2 separate regions of the Homo sapiens genome follow, and region 2 is linked to region 1. Evidence: promoter capture Hi-C in human tissues and cell types (Jung and others, 2019). All regions are on one chromosome and are shown on one strand. Each heading gives the region's core, a stretch centred on a gene start or on the middle of the fragment in contact. The rest is flanking DNA. Distances are from core to core; before and after follow the strand shown.

Region 1 (3,681 bases), core at 678-3,177:
ATAGAAGGATGTTAAGATATCCCAGGGTCTTGGAGGCAGATAGGGAGGGGAAAGAGGAAAAGAGGTCAAAATGGAAAAAAGAGAAAAAGAAAGAAAAGCTCCCCAGGCTAGAGAGGACCCTGGGAGCAGGGGGTCCTTTGGTGCCCATTCAGGGGTTCTGCCTCCAGAGGTGGGTAATGGTTTTCTTTTTTCCTTTTCAAAGTGAGAATTGTTGTGCTGCTGAAATATCCTTTTCCTCTGTGTCAGAACAACATCCCAAAGCCATTATTCCCTTTCCAAAGGAGCGGAATTCGCGAAAGGTGTAAAATACAGGAAGGGGCCCGTCAGCGGCGCTGGCAGCTTCAGCCTTTCTCACCGCCGTACTCCCCGCGTTCCCACGCCAAAAATAACCCGCAGGAAACGCAATTGTGCTCTGAGTCCAGGCAGCGAGCGGAATCCGAGCGTCCAGCGCGGGGCGCAGCTCCAGGCCAAGCTAAGCGTCCTGCCTCCCACCCCCAAGCCCGCACTTCCCCCGCCTAGAACAGATTAACTCTTTCGGCGCTGCGCCGTGTCGCCCCCCTGTGGTGGCGGAGCGAGCTACTCACCTGGCCGCAGGTCGTCTCCTGGCGCGTGCCAAGCTTCGATGATGAGCGAGAAGGTACCCTGGGAAAGGGGGTGGGGGGACGGAGAGATGGCGAGATGAGCAAGCGGGGAGAGGTGGGGGTGCCTTGCGGCAGCCTGTTTAATTAATCTAATTGCAGGATTCAGTTACTGCGCCCGGGTCAACATAACGGGGCTGTGCACAGTGTAGCGCTTGAGCAGGGAAGGCGAGAGGAGAACCCCCGGTAGAGGGAGGGTTGAGAGACGGGAGAGTGTAAGGGAGAGCCACTGGAGGAGGGGGTGGTAGGGTACCGCCCCAGAGTGGTAGGTAATGAAAATCGTGTCCCAAGAGCTGGGGACGGGAGGACATAAACTGGGAAGACGGAGACTGGTGAGAGCCTTTTCTGGGATCAGTCTCAGGAGAGAGTCGGGAAGAGCCAGGAAAGAATGCATCCTGGGCTTTTTGGGGGTGGGGGTGTGTGTACAAGGAAATCTGGGGAGGGGGCTTTGGTCCCAGGGCGCCTCCTCTCTCGGCTTCTGCGACCTCCCAGTGCGCCCAGGCTGTGCTCACCGGCCAGGTGAAATTGAAGGGCAGTTGGAGAGGGTTGCGCCCCCCGCCGCTACTGTCGTCCCGGACAGCGAAGGAGTTGGTGCCCAATACCGGCGTGGAGACGGTCCCGAAGGTGCAGGGTCCGGGCGAGACGACCGCCTGGAAGTGCTTAAGGCAGACGCGGAAGAAAGTCCGGCAGCCGGGCTCGCAAGGCCGCCCACTGGCCAGTACGCCGCGCTCGTTGATGAACTCCTGCAGCTGCAGCTGGAAGACGCCGGAGCCGGCCGCGCGCTATTGCACAGGGACCGAGGGAAGGAGGGAGGGGACCGGTCAGCTCAGCTGGTGCCCGGGGCTGAGGCCCAGAGCGCGGCAGAGGGGACGGAGAGGGCGCGGGACGTGTTACCTGCTGCCAAAGTGCCACCAGCAGCAGTAGCGCCCAGCCAGAGGCGCTCCGGGACGCTGCCGCCATCCCCTCGGGCGTCGCTCTCTCCACCCGCGGGCCCTCAATCTGGCTCTGTTCGCGACGCCGCTTTCCCGCGCGTCCGCCAGCCGGCGGGGTCCCTGAAAAGAGGCGCTCCTCTCGGGACGCTGCTCCCCTTTGGCCTTCTCGCTGGCTCCGCTGCAGCTGCCGCTGTAGGTAATCCAGGTGACTACGGCTGGGCGGCGACCGCGCCGAGGACGCGTCTTCTGTCTAATCCTGGGGCTGCAAGCGGGCTAGTGCCGGTGTACGCTGCACCAAGGCGGCTGGGGCTGCGGCTCTTGGCCTCGTGTTCCCGGCCTGCGCGCAGCGCCGCTACTGAAACCTGCGCGCTGGGGGCCTTCCTTATATATATTGGCTCCTCTCCTCGCCGCCTGTCACTCAGACTCATGGTCATTCTCCCCTCCCCTCCCGGCCTCTAGCTGCTACAGTCCCAGCGCCGCCCGGAGGGGGCCTCCGCCCCCGCCGCTCCCCCCTCCCCGTCAGCCAGTCGGGCGCAGGTCCCCGCCCCTCCGTGCCGCTCCCAACCTCTAGGTCCCCCAGCTCTGCGCGTGCCGAGGTGACCAGTCCTCCGTGATGGCGGGGTTAAGGGCTGAGACCCTGGCCGCCGGAGGATAGAGGGGTTGCCCGGTAATGGGGCAGGAGGTGAGTGGGTGGTTCGGGGATGGTCTTGGGGGCGGAGACACTAGGCAGTCCCTGTAGGCTGTGCATCCGCAGCAGGCGCTAGTTACCTAGTGTTCCAAAGCAGGTAAAAAGAACTTAAGCCCGGAATGCAAAAACCAGCGCTAGGGAAATCCGATCTCCTTTTCCTTCCTGGAGCTTCTGGAGCCCTTGTCTCAACGGCCCCCAACCTATGAGTGCCCACCCACCACGCGTCCCCAGCGCAGCAGGGAAGCCAGCAGAAGCGTTAACCTCTCTGTGGCCACTCTGAGCAAGGCTAGGGGCTAAGGGTCTAAGGCTCGGGGCCCTCTCTGTGCACCTGTTGGGCGTCTCCCTCTCTAGCTAAGGGGGGGCGTGCCCAGCGCGTGCCTTCTCCCTTCTGCCCCCTGCCAGGGCTTGGCGCGTGCCAGAGACCCAGACGCGCGGTCCCTGAGGTGGGGGAGGGCGGGGCGTGGTCCCGGAGGTAGGAGGGGGGCGCGTCCTCAGCTGTATGGTAATGAGGTTCTGGCCCCGCCTCCAGCGCGTCCCCTCACCTGAGTCCAGCTTCAGTTCCTGCGCCCACTGCCTCCCCCCACCCCAGCAGCCCCAAGCCCCCGGCCGCGCCCTGTCGCTCAGCTGGGGCAAGGAGGAACTCTCCTGACGCCAGAGTTGGCTCAGGCCACTGGAGAATCAAGGTGAGGGACTGAGGCCGGGTCGGCCCGGGTCCTCGCCTCATAAGGCGGGATGTGGGGTGGAACTGGAGGCTTGCGGAGCTGTTTGAGTTTCAGGCGGCTTCCCAAGTCTCGCCCGAGAGGGTCCCCTGGGTGGCCCCACTCCTCCAAGCGGCAGCAGCGCAGCTGCTTTCTCGGAACCCGGCGTGATCCCCGGAGACCGCAGACCGGGGAGGGCCGGCTTCTCCCAGTCTCAGGGGTGCCGGGGAGCTCTCTCTTTGCGACGCCGAGGGCAGCGGGGGCCCTGTGGCTTCAGCTGTCAGCCCGCCCGCGAGGTGATGGCTGTAGTCGGGCGGTAAGATCAGCGCGGGGGGGGAGCCGGGACGCGGCGCGAACCCGGGGGAGGCGGTAAGGGTGGGGGAGCGGCGAGAAGCCCAACAGCTGCCAATGCCGAGCATGGTCTGATTTTTTTTTTTGAGTTGGGTGGTGGTGGTGGAGGACTGGGGGACGGGTGTGGTGGGGGGGGGAAGGATGAGAAACAAGAGGTTGGGAGCGTGGGTTGGGGGAGGGGCGAGGTGAGGAGACGGGCTCCGGGGTCCCCCACGCACGGCCACCCCTCCCAGCCACCATCTGGCGCGAGCGGGTTGGCGTGGGGAACCGAGGTGGGGCGGGGCGGCAGATGGGCCCAGGCTGCGCTCGGGAGTTAATGTAGGTTATGGGCAGGCGGAGTCCCAGGCCCGAGGGAGGGGGAGTCCGGGGCGTGC
Region 2 (3,200 bases), core at 100-2,599, 380 kb before region 1:
CTTTTTAAAGTATAAAAGTATATATTTTATACTTTAAAATAATCTCCAGATTACTTATGACAGCTAACGTAATGTAAATGCTATGTACATTACAAATTTACATAGGAAATTTACAAAGTTGTTGTAATGTTAAGGGAATGATGACAAGAAAAAGAGTGTACCTGTTCAGTACAGACACAATCCAGTTTTTTTTTCCTGAATATTTTTAGTCTGTGGTTGTTTGAATCCATGGATGCTATACCCATGGATATGGTGGGCCAACTGTAACATCATGAGTCTTGAAATGAAAATCATTAAGAAGCCAGGCTTTTTTTGACACATACTTTCTTTAGAAGGTAAGTTTGGTTCTTTTATAATCTTAACCATGGTATGACACTAATATTTTTCTTTTTTCCTATCTAGCTATCTCTTAAAAACAAAAGCCATAGTAAATGCATCAGAGATGGATATTCAAAATGTTCCTCTATCAGAAAAGATTGCAGAGGTAAAATTTCATGATGGTTGTATGCTTTTTTAAAATACAGACAACTCTTGATAACTTCTACCAATGAACTTGGGGATGATGAAATGGCATGATGCTCAATAATCCTTTTTACTTGATTTGACCTTCCCTATTGAATTTGTAATGAAAAACAAAATACTAAAACCACACTGTAAGGTATAGTTCAGGAAGAAAGGAAAAGCTGCTCAACTGCTGCACTCCTGCATTCTCCTTTGTGCTGGGAATGGATATCATCATCTTGCCATAGAGGTGTCTTCTTTGCAAATACCTTGTAATTGCTCAACTGTCTCAGACATAAGAGTGATGAAACAGTTATTAAGAATTCCTGGCCGGGCGTGGTGGCTCACGCCTGTAATCCCAGCACTTTGGTAGGCCAAGGCGAGCAGAACATGAGGTCAGGAGATGGAGACCATCCTGGCTAACACAGTGAAACCCCATCTCTATTACAAATACAAAAAATTAGCCGGGCGTGGTGGCACGTGCCTGTAGTCCCAGCTACTCGGGAGGCAGAGGCAGGAGAATTGCTTGAACTGGGAGGTGGAGGTTGCAGTGAGCTGAGATTGCGCCACTGCATTCCAGCCTGGGCAACAGAGCAAGACTCTGTCTCAAAAAAAAAAAAAAAAAAAATTTAGCCGGTCATGGTGGTGGGCGCCTGTAATCCCAGCTACTTAGGAGACTGAGGCAGGAGAATCGCTTGAACCCAGGTGGTGGAGGTTGCAGTGAGCCGAGACTGCGCCACTGCACTCCAGCCTGGGCAACAGAGCGAGACTGCGTCTCAAAAAAAAATAATTCTTGCCTGGGCGTGGTGGCTCACGCCTGTAATCCCAGCACTTTGGGAGGCTGAGGCGGATGGATAACCCGAGATCAGTAGTTCGAGACCAGCCTGACCAACATGGAGAAACCCTGTCTCTACTAAAAATACAAAATTAGCCGGGCGTGGTGGCACATGCCTGTAATCCCAGCTACTTGGGAGGTTGAGACAGGAGAAGCACTTGAACCTGCGAGATAGAGGTTGTTGTGAGGCAAGATCATGCCATTGCACTCTAGCCTGAGCAACAAGAGTGAAAATCTGTCTCAAAAAAAAAAAAAAGAAAAAAAGAAGGCTGGGCATGGTGGCTTATGCCTGTAATCCCAGCACTTTGGGAGGCTGAGGCAGGCAGATCACCTCAGGTCGGGAGTTTGAGACCAGCCTGACCAACATGGAGAAATCCCATCTCTACTAAAAATACAAAATTAGCCGGGCGTGTTGGCGCATGCCTATAATCCCAGCTTTTCGGGAGGCTGAGGCAGGAGAATCGCTTGAACCTGGGAGGCAGAGGTTGCAGTGAGCCGAGAGCTTGCCATTGAGAGCGAAACTCTGTGTGGAAAAAAAAAAAAAGAATTCTTATTGGCTGGGTGCGGTGGCTCACACCTGTAATCCCAGCACTTTGAGAAGCCGAGGTGGGTGGATCATGAGGTCAGGAGTTCAGCCTGGCCAAGATGGTGAAACCCCGTCTCTACTAAAACTAGAAAAATTAGCCAGGCGCAGTGGCAGGCGCCTATAATCCCAGCCCCAGCTACTCAGGAGGCTGAAGCAGGAGAATCGCTTGGACCTGGATGGCAGAGGTTGCAGTGAGCCAAGATCACGCCATTGCATTCTAGCCTGGGTGACAGTGAGAATCTATTTCAAAAATAATAATAATAATAATTGGTATGGGAAATGACTTTGGAATGGCAGTATGAGGAGTTCCATGGATAGGATCCAGGAAGAATATTATAAAGGAAACAACCATCTTAAGTCTGTGGAAATTTTCTTCAAGGTATATGGCAAATACAGAAACATTTATTTGTTTATTTATTTTTGAGACAAAGTCTCACTCTGCCTCCCAGGCTGGAATGCAGTGGCACAGTCTTGGGTCACTGCAACCCCCTCCTCCCGGGTTCAAGCGATTCTCCCACATGGAGAATCCTTGTCTCTACTAAAAATACTAAAAAGCCTCCTGAGTACCTGGGACTACAGGCGCGCACTACCGTGCCCAGATAATTTTTGTATTTTTAGTAGAGACGGGGTTTTACCATCTCTGCTAAAAATGATGGCCAGGCTGTTCTCGAACTTCCGAGCTCAGGTGACCCACCCGCCTCGGCCTACCAAACTGCTGGGATTACAGGTGTGAGTGCCAGGTTCAAGTGCTTCTGCTTCAGCCTCCCCAGTAGCTGGGAACCCAGTTGCCCTTGCCCCCAGCTTGCTTGTAGGGTGGAAATCCTATGCTGGGAGGGGCGAATGGAGATTATCAGAAGCCACTGCTCTTGCCCTGCTGAGTAACAACACTAAATTTCATGCTAAATATAGCTGTAAGAACTCTTAAAAATTACCTAATTGCAACAGTTATCTGTTCTAAACCTAATAACCAGAGTTAACTTTGCAGACCATTAGTAGAATGTTAAAGTCAGAGAGGCATTTGTTACTGTTAACAAAGTGTTAAAAGAAAAGCTAAATTCTTGCCACTGGAAAAGGAGGAGAAGCCTGTCTCCACAAAGCACTGTGACCAGACTTTATTCATCTTCACAGTAGCAGTGCTGCTCAGCAATGTTTTGTCTTTTTTCACACGAAACTTTACATCTGAGGATCTTTTTTTTTTTTTTTTTTGAGACGGAGTCTCGCTCTGTCACCCAGGCTGGAATGCAGTGGCACGATCTTGGCTCACTGCAAGCTCTGCCT

The links. The method cuts DNA at HindIII sites, captures the fragments that hold promoters and counts their contacts. A contact is called where the count stands out against the background at its distance.
Region 2: a contact is called between a fragment that was not itself captured here and the fragment with the promoter of DLL4 in region 1, in 2 of the 25 tissues and cell types used here (lymphoblastoid cells and spleen).

The regions. Positions count from the first base shown.
Region 1 is chr15:40,927,586-40,931,266 of GRCh38, reverse strand. It overlaps DLL4 (delta like canonical Notch ligand 4), which reads right to left and starts at 1,927. Exons shown (of 11, transcript NM_019074.4): 1 at 1,533-1,927; 2 at 1,151-1,420; 3 at 585-642. The coding sequence starts at 1,598. RefSeq lists silencers at 2,033-2,122, 2,716-2,785. The HindIII fragment of the contact is 17,329 bases long and covers 1-3,681 here.
Region 2 is chr15:41,310,557-41,313,756 of GRCh38, reverse strand. It overlaps OIP5 (Opa interacting protein 5), which reads left to right. Exons shown (of 5, transcript NM_007280.2): 4 at 403-484. OIP5-AS1 (OIP5 antisense RNA 1) reads right to left here. Exons shown (of 5, transcript NR_152821.1): 5 at 419-1,859. Among named protein-coding and RNA genes, the nearest start is that of OIP5, 20 kb to the left of the region's middle. The HindIII fragment of the contact is 4,895 bases long and covers 1-3,200 here.